Regions from separate parts of the Homo sapiens genome. Here region 2 is linked to region 1. Evidence: promoter capture Hi-C in 16 types of primary human blood cells and fetal thymus (Javierre and others, 2016). All regions are on one chromosome and are shown on one strand. The core of a region is centred on a gene start or on the middle of the fragment in contact, and the rest is flanking DNA. Distances in the headings are between cores, read along the strand shown.

What was found. Contacts are between HindIII fragments. The CHiCAGO score rates a contact against its expected background, and 5 or more counts as called.
Region 2: a contact is called between the fragment with the promoter of SPATA18 here and a fragment that was not itself captured in region 1, in 3 of 17 cell types (monocytes, M0 macrophages and total B cells). The highest score is 8.6, in monocytes.

What each region holds. Positions count from the first base shown.
Region 1 is chr4:51,843,468-51,848,986 of GRCh38, reverse strand. All of the region lies in intron 1 of DCUN1D4 (defective in cullin neddylation 1 domain containing 4), which reads right to left. Among named protein-coding and RNA genes, the nearest start is that of DCUN1D4, 3.1 kb to the right of the region's middle. RefSeq lists silencers at 4,607-4,726, 5,277-5,356, 5,457-5,519. The HindIII fragment of the contact is 1,118 bases long and covers 3,578-4,695 here.
Region 2 is chr4:52,048,289-52,053,518 of GRCh38, reverse strand. It overlaps SPATA18 (spermatogenesis associated 18), which reads right to left and starts at 2,215. Exons shown (of 13, transcript NM_145263.4): 1 at 1,728-2,215. The coding sequence starts at 1,814. RefSeq lists enhancers at 1,423-1,772, 1,565-2,064, 2,065-2,566 and a silencer at 1,943-2,242. The HindIII fragment of the contact is 3,697 bases long and covers 1-2,630 here.

The DNA.
Region 1 (5,519 bases), core at 2,887-5,386:
TGATACAGGCCAGCAAAAAATTTCACAAGGAAAAAAAAATCCTCGAAGGCAGAACTAAAATAAATCATACCACAGGTAATGCTATTTGAAGAGGGCAGGGGTCTTTTTCATATCTAGTGTTTTTTTCAGTACATTAGTTACAAATGACAAGCCTATCTTCCTAGATTGAACATAACTCATTAACAGCATTTTCTGATTAAAAGCAATTCAAACCTGAAGTAGCAGATACTTTGCTACATCTAAAACTGTCACACAATGATTGTTAAAATACCTAATTCTATTTAGAATGCATTTCAATGTTTTCCTTCTTAAAACACATTTTAAAATACATGTTCTGCTTAGAATACTTCTCAAGAGGTACTTCTCCTAATGTAAATTTCAAAAGAAAAAAAGCAAGCTATGAGAAGAATTAATACCAATTCGAGTTGACCAACTATAAAAATTTACCAGCATTTATGTCAGATTCATCAAAGAAAATTTTACTCTGTAAATCTGAAGAAAGACTTTCAGTGATCTCACTATATTGTTAACTTAAGAAATAAATCCTTAGGACCAGAATATGGATATAAAACAAAAAGAAGGGAAAAGGACAAACACTCTAGGCCCCTTAACATCAGACCTGTTAATGCTGCCTTAACCTTGTGCAGGTAGGACGCTGACACGAGAGACCAGAAACGGACGTGTGCACATTCACAAACACTCCTTCTGTTCCCTCAGCACATCACCAGCATTTTACTCTTTCCTTGAGAATTTCTCCACGCCACATTCTCTAAAACTGATATCTGCATGTTTGAAAAATATTAAATTAGTTTGCATACAACTGACTTTGTCTAAAAAATGCAAAGAATGAGTAGGTGAAAGCTTGTGTTCCTTGAAGAAAAATCTAAAGATAATGAAAGACAACAGGAACAGGAAGAATTAATTTTTCTAGATAATGCACAAGTTATTCAATAGTTGATCATTTAAGTTCAATTCAATACATATTTGGGTAGCTATGCAAGGCATCATGCTAGATGCTAAAGTGGATACTGGGTAAGACATGGTCCCAGATCTCAAAAAGGTAATAATCTAATTGGGGAGGGGAAATAAAAGTAAACAAGCAGCTATTGTTATGTAACATAAAACTGAGTAACAGAAGGAAGCACTGCTTCAGAGATTCCATGAAAGGAGAGTCTGCTAGAGAGGGAGCACAGTAAAGAAAAATTCTAAAACAGCAGCACTGAGGGCAGCTGGAGCCGGGTGCAGTGGCGTGCATCTATAACTTCAGCTACTCAGAGACTGAGGTGGAAGGACCCCTGAAGCCCAGAGTTCGAGTCCAGCCTAGGCAACATAACAAGACCCAACCTCTAAAAAAAAAAAAACAAAAAAGAAAGAAAAATGTATTGCTGGTTATTATAACACTGTAAGAAAGGCTGTCTCAGACATAAGGCCATGGCAATAGGTATGGGAAAGAGAGGCTGGGCATGGGAAGAGATGCAATCTCTCCTTGCCACTGACCAGGGAAGAAGAGGATAAGAAATGTCCAGGATTTCAGTGTGGGTTATTAAAATTACTGCAGCTTCATTTACCAAATGAATAAAATTTATTAGTTTTGTTCTCTTCTTTGACTATTAAAAAGCTCAGTGCCAAATATTTCTAACATATGGCAAGTGTTTCTGTGTACCTTACAAGTCTATATATAAATTTTTCTTCTCTTGACAGGGTTTTATCTATATTTAGCAAGTCACCCCTAATTCTTTTAGAATAAGGCAGAAAATAAATCAACGTAAAGGTTGAGACCAAGCCAGAGACAGCTGGCCAAAGTAGCTGGTTCAGGGATATAACCTGCAAGTTGCCAACCCAGCGCATTCTTCTCACCCTTCTTCCACCCTACGAAAGGCCATATCTTACAAGAGATGCTGGTAAATGCCAGACATTCACTGTGTCAGGCTTCCTCACAGCTAGCAGTGGCATGAGATCAGTTCAATCCAATGACACTGAAATGGAACTCTCCAAAGTGAGTTTCTGCAAAAGACTTCTCTGTTAACAGGGAGTTATAAGGAAATATGCACCTTCCTTCCCTGCTTTCCAATCCAGGCATGATGTCTGGTGCTACGGCAACCATACTGCAAACATGAGGCAAATGAGCCTGAGGAATAAAAGCTAAAACACTAATAGAAGAAGAAAAAGATGCAGAACCTAGATCCTTAATGACATCATTAAGCCACTGCACCAGCTTTAGAACCAACTACTTCTAGGTTTCTTGCTACCGAACAATAATAAGCCCTATTATTTAAGCCATTAATTTGAGCATTGTATTGGCAAAGGCATCCTAACTGATACAAGAGATCATCATGAGGTCAGTTTCTCACAGGTTGATTTTTATACTGCTAAGTTAGCAGGATTATTAGCTATTAATTATTAGTTATAATTAGCAGATGATGATTGAGATAATAATGTAAACGTAGCCAGGAAGAAGGTAATAAGCCAAGAAGAGCTGCTGGGAGCAACTTAACATAAAAACAGAAAAGGAGACAATGATAAAGTTTGAAAAAACATGATTAAGTGCCAGTAGGGGTACACAGAGTTAACAACAGAGGAAGAAGAGAGTGAAGTCCACTAAGAGAAAATGAGGCAGGCCTTCTTTTCTGGCAATGTTACAGACAAGATTACCTAAAAATCCTTCTTAATATAAAACAGTCAAAAATTCTGGATAACGTGTAAGAAACATCTGTTTAAATGCACAGCTACGTTCACAAGAAAATAAAGGACCTCCCCAAGCGCCAAAAATCAAAAAGGAACCTAAAAACCAGAGCAGAAAGTGTGTAGGAGCCTAGGGCTTTGGGGAATGGAGGGAGGTGGGCTATATGTGTATAAAAAGCACCTGCCCTTTGGGATATAATAGAACAAAAGAAAAAGAGAAAGCTATGACTAGCTTCATATTTTCTTTAAAAACACCATTTTGAAGACAATTATAGCTCTTGCATGTTTTTCAACCTCATCACTTTACCCTCTGCAAGAAAAAATTCCAGAGTTAAGTGCACATTTTTGTACATATTTTTATATTACCAAGAGTTTCCTGGATATTTCACCACACGATTAAGTAAAATATGACAGATAGATATAAATGATCTCCACAAGAACACCACACACATTGCCCAATTTTTCACTCATCATGAAAAGAACCATCAAACAATCAAGTATCCAAGTTCAGTATGTTTGTAACCACACCAAAAGGTTTACAAATCTTAGGACTTCTTGGTAATATTTTTATCATCAGAAAAATTACAATATTCTTCTAATGACTATGTTGCAAGTAGTTTCATAATACCTTATATATTACATACAAAAATCTATCATCTCTGCATTAATCTTAGCCTTCTACATTACAGATTCTGGAGTCCCTTCCCTGTAAACAGTAAAGGGAACTGGTGAAGGATGTGACGTTTAGGGAGTCTACTTATGGAGAGGAAGGTTTCTAGTATTAAGGAGAGAAGGAATTGCAGCCTGCAGCTAATAATAAAACAAGCAAACAAAAAAAGTCTTATGGTTCTCCACTTTTTACAGTTTTCTTCTATTCTCATTTGCTTTCCAAGCTTCTTCGAAAATTGAAGACGTCACATATTACCTTTGCTCACCTTCACATTTCCACCCTAAATTCCACTAACCCACCTCCATCACTCATTTCAAGACAGTTATTTTTTCAAACACCCCAAGAAATACCAACACATAGTTTATATTATCGTTACAAGGGTTACGTGTACCTCCACTGTGTTCTCATATTTATGCAAGGGAATGCTGGAACCCAGTGCTTACACACACTGGATGCCAAAATTAAATACACCATTCTAAAGGCTGCTTTACATTGTGTTGCTTCTTAAATGTTTTCCCACAACCCGTGCGCATGATGGTACAAGACCAAGCATTTATTCCACAAGTAAGGCCACAAAATGCAGGGGGAAATTCACTTGGGGACCAAGAACCTAAGCGTGAAGAGGGCTGCGCCTGGCGTGGGCTCTCCCTCTCCCAAGGGAGAAGGGCTGGGGAGTCGCTCCGTCCCTGGGAACTCAACCGCCTCCCGAGAGCGCGCAGGAGCTGGCCGGGGAATAAAGCACGAGTTGGCCGAGCAGGAAGGCTCCAAGGGCGCGCTGCATGCCGGGACCCGTTTCCACAGTTACCCACGTGCACCCAACCCAACCGCGGCCGGGCGCGGCCGCGACTACAAGTCCCAGAATTCGGCGGGACCGCCTTTCCCCTTCATACCCGTTGACTGGAGACAAACCCTAAAGGAAACCCCTCAAGCGCCCTCCCAGCACGCCTGGGAGAAGTCGCGCCCCCCGGGCGTGGGGCGCGGCCTAGGGCCCGGCCATCCCTCTAAGGAAGCGGGTTCCATGGCACCAACCCCCACACCTGATAGCCAGAAATTAGACAACTGCGTCACAGACTATCAAACCCACGGACTGCCAGGGACCCCGACACCTCCCCGGCGCCAAGCCCCCGACCCGGCCATCAGGGCCCGACCCCTCCGGCTCCCGCTGCTGAAACCCCGCAGCCCGCACCCCTGCCCCGCCTCCTAGTCCCGCTGCCGGAGCCCGCGCCAGCGCTGACCTCGCTTCCCGCCGTCCGGGGGGAACCACGGCCAGTTCCAACCTTAGGGCACTTACCCCGTCTCCTCCACCTCAGCCCCGCCCCCTCCTCTCTCCGCACCCCGAAGCTTGGACTCCCCCCTTCAAGGGACCCTGCCTCGACAGGGAGAGGAAGTACCTCCCCTAAGCACAGTCTGACACCCCCTTAGCCCGGCTCCGGACCGAATCTGGACGTGACAGTCCTCCTGCCCAACTCCGCCCCACCTCCCCTTCCTCCCCGACTAGCTCCTCACCCCCATTTCATATTCTCCACCCCTGCCCCCACTCTGCCACCCCAAATCCTACCCACCTTTTTCTCCTCTTCCTCCCAATCGCCCTACCCTTCCACACCTGCCCCATCTCTTTACCCCAACATCTTCCACTCCCACCACTCTCCGTTACCCACCGCCCTTCCAACGCCCCTCCCGCCCCGCAGGACTCCCCAACTACCATTACACCCCAGTCCCTCCCACCACCTCGCTTTCCCGTTACATCAGCCCTCGTCCAGTCGCCCGCCCTCCTGCCCCGCTCGGCCGCTGCCCCCATTCCCCCACCCCATTGTTCGCCGCCCCCCCCCCACCCCCCCGCCAACCAGCCCTTCTTCCCATTGTCCCCGCCCCCGCGCCCCCCTCGCACTCACCCGCCTTTCTCACGGAGCCGCCCGCACCACTCAGCCCTTTGGAAATCCTCACCCTTGTGCCCCGCTCGCTCGCTCGCTCCCTCCCTCTCCCCGCCGGTGCCACCCCCCCACATCCCCGGCCCTGCCCGCTACAGCCCAACGCTGCCTCCACCTCCATGCACCCCGGACACTCCGATCTCGGCCCTTCATCGCACGTCCAGCCCTCCCTTCCCCCAACACTGAAAGAGAGCCAGTCCCCACCCCCCTCACCTCCGCCCTCCCCGCAGGCCGGTCCC
Region 2 (5,230 bases), core at 966-3,465, 210 kb before region 1:
TATAGAAATAAGATTCATCAGCATACTTGTAACAGATGAAGCAGGAGTGGAGGGGGAAGAATACAGGTGTCAACATTCCAATGTGATAATGATGCCTGCAAACTCAAGAGAAATGATGGAACCTGGGGAGTGGCCACAAGGTATGAAAAACACTGGTGGCTGTGAGTGCAGCCTCTACTGTAGAGAGATGAAGGGAAAACAGCTGGATGGAAATGGTTTTAATGAGAGCAGAGAATGGGATGTTATCAAGACAGGAAAATGTAATAAACTAAGGCACTTCTCATCACTTACAGGGAGTTTCTAAAATAATTGTTTATTAGTTCCAGACAAATCCTAGTGTTATTTGTAATAAACATTGTGACAAACAACATGTTTTTTTAAAATTCAGAGTTTAGTTAGGCCACTGGGCAAAAAAAAAGGGGTAAATACTGTATACATGTTAGAATTTCTTATTCTCAACCTCCTGAGACTAAGTAGTAGGTACTTTTAAAATTAGTTGGGGGGAACCCAAGTCTTTTATGATAAAGAGGTCATTTTAACTTTCCAGAATTCTTAATGGAGAAGGAATGGTCAGCGCTTGTTCTTTAAAAGGGAGCAAAGGACTGAACAGGAAGCACTAGAAAGGAAGGCTAAGGAGAAAGCTGTAGCTGCTCTTTGAGCTCCCCTCCACTTCAGGAGCACTGGTTAAAGGGTGAATGGGGAAGCCTAAGGACCTCATAACAGGCAGGATCTCAGAAACAAGCTAATCTAGGCTCAAAAACTTAAAATCTGAACAGGAAATTTACATATCATCTAGACCAATCTCTGCTATTTCACAGATGAGGTACTAAGACCAAGAGAAGTTAAATAATTTGACTCCGTCATTCAGCTAGTTCTATGCAGAGCCAAATGTAGAAACAAGGGGGGGCTAATTTCCGGTCCACAGTTCTTTTGCCTGGCCGCTCCACTTATTATGTAAGAGGGGAAATCCCTATTTAAGACGGACCGACCGAATGTAAAGCAAATTCAACACTCACCGTTCTATTTGGGGGAAGGGGGGAATTATGGGGAGGCAGGGTGCGAGTAGGGATTAATGAGATTTGAAAAGTGCTCATGGGTTTGGTGACAGAATACTGGCTTCTCACAAATGCCTGGAAAAAGGCCTGAATCCGCCCTGGTGTTGGAACTGTGCCTCAATTTCCAGGCCCACCAGCACGCAAGTGAAACCCGCAACGTTAACAAGTGTCCGTTTCGCTGATTTCTGGGTAAATAACTCCTGGGTGTGTGTTTATACAAATCCATTCTGATACAAACCCTGGGCAGGAGAGGGTTGTAGTAAAAAATAATTCGGGATTGGGGAAGCAGGCGGTGTGGATTGCGCTGGCAAGGGGGATGGGAAAGAGTGGCAGGCATGACCAGACCAGCCGCGGACAGCAGGGCTTCCCTATTGCTAGGTCGCCGGCGTCCTTAGTTACCACTGATTGGAAGCACTCTCCAGTCTCCGCAGCCTAGTGCTGCGCTCCGCAGGCCGCCTGCGCGCCGCCTCCCGAAGCTCTGAGACAAGGGCATGTACACACATGTCCTTCCTTCCCCAGCGATCCCGGTCGAAAGCTGAGATCCTGGTTAGGAATCGCAACCGCGGAGGCTTTGCAAAGTGGCCACCAACTCCAGCCCTAAGAAATCCCCGACAAGGGCTGTGCTGGAACCTATGGGAGGGCGAACCCCGGGGGTTTTTCACCCAGACTCACGTTGTACTCCTTCAGCCAGAAGTCTAGCTTTTCCTGCAACGTTCGTAAAGTTTCGTTTGAGACCAGTCTTTTCAGGTTTTCCGCCATCGCTCACTATTCCTCTCGGCCCCACGCTGCGCGATGGAGACTTGGGGGGACCAGGCGGTGGCCTCCGCAGGACCGTGGGGTGATATGGCGGGAAGGGTGTTCTCTTCTGGGGGGCTCAGAGCGCGGCAGGTGTTTCCATCCTCCCCCTCGGGTCGGACCTGGCCGGGTTCGGGAAGCCAGAGGGGAGGTGCCCTGGGCCGCAGCCGCCGCGCCTCATCCGCCGTCCCGCGCGGTCTCCTGGCTCCCCAGCAGCCGCCTGAGCCCGGCCATAGATACCCTGGCGATTATTAAACAAACCTTGACGTGGACGGGTTGGCTGCCAGGGACGCGCGCGGCCCGCGTCGTGGCAACGCCCGCGCCGCCCCGCCCTGGGTGACAGCCGCGCGCCCCAGGGGTGGACTGAGACGCGCAGCCGCGCGGGCTGGAGGGCAGCAGGGCGTCTACAGCATTCCTCCCCATTCGGGGTTCTGGGTGCCCACGCGTGTCCAGAAAAGCAGAAGTTAAGTCTCTATAGAAGTTTGGGGCTAGGCTCTCAGGAGATCACCTCTTTGGCCCCTTTATTCTTTCGCCTTTCATTCCTTTAATTCTTCATTTGTAGCGCCTTGGGTTTACCTGTATGAAACTTGTAACTAAAATTTCAGTACTTCTTACTTCTAGCTTTTACTTTGTTCCTTGACCCACTGGGTGGGTACCCAAGTTAATAGAGTTTAGCTCCAGGATGTTCACAAATTAAAGTTAATCCCTCAGGTTTGGATAAGATTTGGCAGTATGTATTTTAGTACTTTTTTTTTTAGAGTCATTGAGCACTCTAAAGCTTCATTTAATTCTGAATTCTCTAATTGGGACTTTCTTGACCTAGTTTGGCACTATTTCAAAAGTGTGTATTCTGCTACAGAAACAGGTTCAACTACTTAGGAAACCATTTCGACCATCTTTAAGCGCTTTCGAAGCAAGCTCTTTTATATACCATCAAAAAATGTGCTGATTATAAATCATTCCTATCCATTCATTAAAACAGCGGTGGGGAGCAGAGCCTCAGCTGGTTAGCTAGCTAGTTTAACTTAGTTTCATCTCTGTAGGTACTTGAAAATCTGTGAACACTGCATATATTCAAGTATTGTAAAATCAAGAATTTTCACCACCTCTCATTTTTTATTTCTCTTGATTACAGTGGCTTTACTATCTGCTAATGAAAATGAAAGGCTCAGTTTTGGAGCCTGTGTTCCTACTATTTTCTGTAGACCACAAAATAAGGACTATAGGGGTATAACATGTTATTTGATTGGAGTAGAATAATAATTTCTAATGTTAAAAATACCCACTCAACAAAACAGCTAAATATTCATTAAACAACTTCATATATATATATATATATATATATATATATATGTAAAATGAATTGAGAAAAACTTCAAATTTCTCAATTTGGACCTAATAATTACATATTTCTACAGGCATTTGGAATCTTTGAACAGTCCCATTTACTTATTCATAAAAACCCATATTGGAACATTTATGTCAGATAAATTAGAGGTAAAGGATTTTTCCTTGCTGTGAGCACCTTAATTAGCCTGTAATCCTTGGTTTCATCATCTGTAAAAGGAAAATAATTCTCTCATAGGATTATTATGAAACTTAGTAAGATAATTCATGTATTTAGTACAATGCTTGGCAAAATGCAGTAGCAATTGCTCTAGTAATTGCTGTTTATTAAATATAAACTAATACTGGCCTACATTTGCTATTATTAAGAATGTGGATTAGTATGTTTATATTTAATAAAGAAAACTAGTTGTAAACAATCTAAACCTCCAACAATAGGGTAATGGTTAAGCAAATAATGAAATGTTGCACACTAAAAATCTTGTTGTTGTAGAATATATACTATCTACAAATTTTCACTATAACGAAAAAGGCAGAACACTAAATTGTATACACTGTGTTAAATTACACAATGTGAACCCAAGGTATAATTGTGGGTTATTTTAATTGCTCTTTTATATTTTTCTGATTTTTTCAAGTTTCTATCATGAATATGAATTGTTTGTATGAAAACTTATTCAGAAAAAAGTTACCCCAAACAGTTACTAACATGGTTTGGCTGAGTCCTTGCCAAAATCTCATCTTGGATTCCACGTGTTGTGGGAGGGGTCCAGTGAGAGGTAATTGAACCATGGAGTCAGGTCTTTCCTGTACTATTCTCGTGATAGTGAGTAAGTCTCACAAGATCTGGTGGTTTTGAAAAAGGGAATTTTCCCTGCACAAGCTTGCTGCCGCCCATATAAGATGTTACTTGCTCCTCCTTGCCTCCCACCATGATTGTGAGGCCTCCCTCGCCATGTGGAACTGTAAGTCCATTCAACCTCTTTCTTTTGTAAATTGCCCCGTCTCAGCAGCTTGTAAACCAACTAATACAGTAAATTCTTATGGGGATTGCAGCGCCACTGAAAATATATCCAAAAATGTGGAGCACTTTAGGAACTGAGTAACTTTCTGGAACTGAGTAACAGGCAGAGGTTGGAACAGTTTGGAGGACTCTGAAGAAGACAGGAAAATGTAGGAACGTTTCGAACTCCCTAGAGTCTTGTCAAATGGCTTTGACCAAAATGCTGATAATGATATAGACTATGAAATCCAGGCTGAGGTGGATGGAAATGAGGAATTTGTTGGGAACTGGAGCAAAGGTGACTCTTTTTATGTTTTAGCAAAGAGACTGGCAGCATTTTGCCCCTGACCTAGAGATTTGTGGAACTTTGAACTTGAGAGAGATGATTTAGGTTATCTGGCAGAAGAAATTTCTAAGTAGCAAAGCATTCAAGAGGTGACTTGGGTGCTGTTAAAGGCATTCCATTTTGAAAGGGAAGCAGAGCATAAAAGTTCAGAAAATTTGCAGCCTGACAACGCAATATAAAAGAAAATCCCATTTTCAGAGGAGAAATTCAAGCGGGCTACAGAAATTTGCATAAGTAACAAGGAGCCAAATGTTAATCCCCAAGACAATGGTGAAAATATCTCCAGGGCATGTCTCCAGGGCAGCCTAGGGACTTGATGCCCTGCGTCCCAGCCACTCCAGCCATGGCTGAAAGGGGCCAATGTAGAGCTCTGGCCATGGCTTCAGAGAGTACAAGCCTCAAGCCTTGGGAGCTTTCATGTGGTATTGAGCCTGCAAGTACACAGAAGTCAAGAGTTGAGGTTTGGGAACCTCTGCCTAGATTTCAGAAGATGTATGGAAACACCTAGATGCCCAGGCAAAAGTTTGCTGCAGGGGTGGGGCCCTCATGGAGAACCTCTGCTAGGGCAGTGCAGAAGGTTAATGTGGGGTGTGAACCCCCACAAAGAGTCCCTACTGGGGTGCTGCCTAGTGGAGCTGTGAGAAGCCTCTGTCCTCCAGACCCTAGAATGGTATATCCACAGAA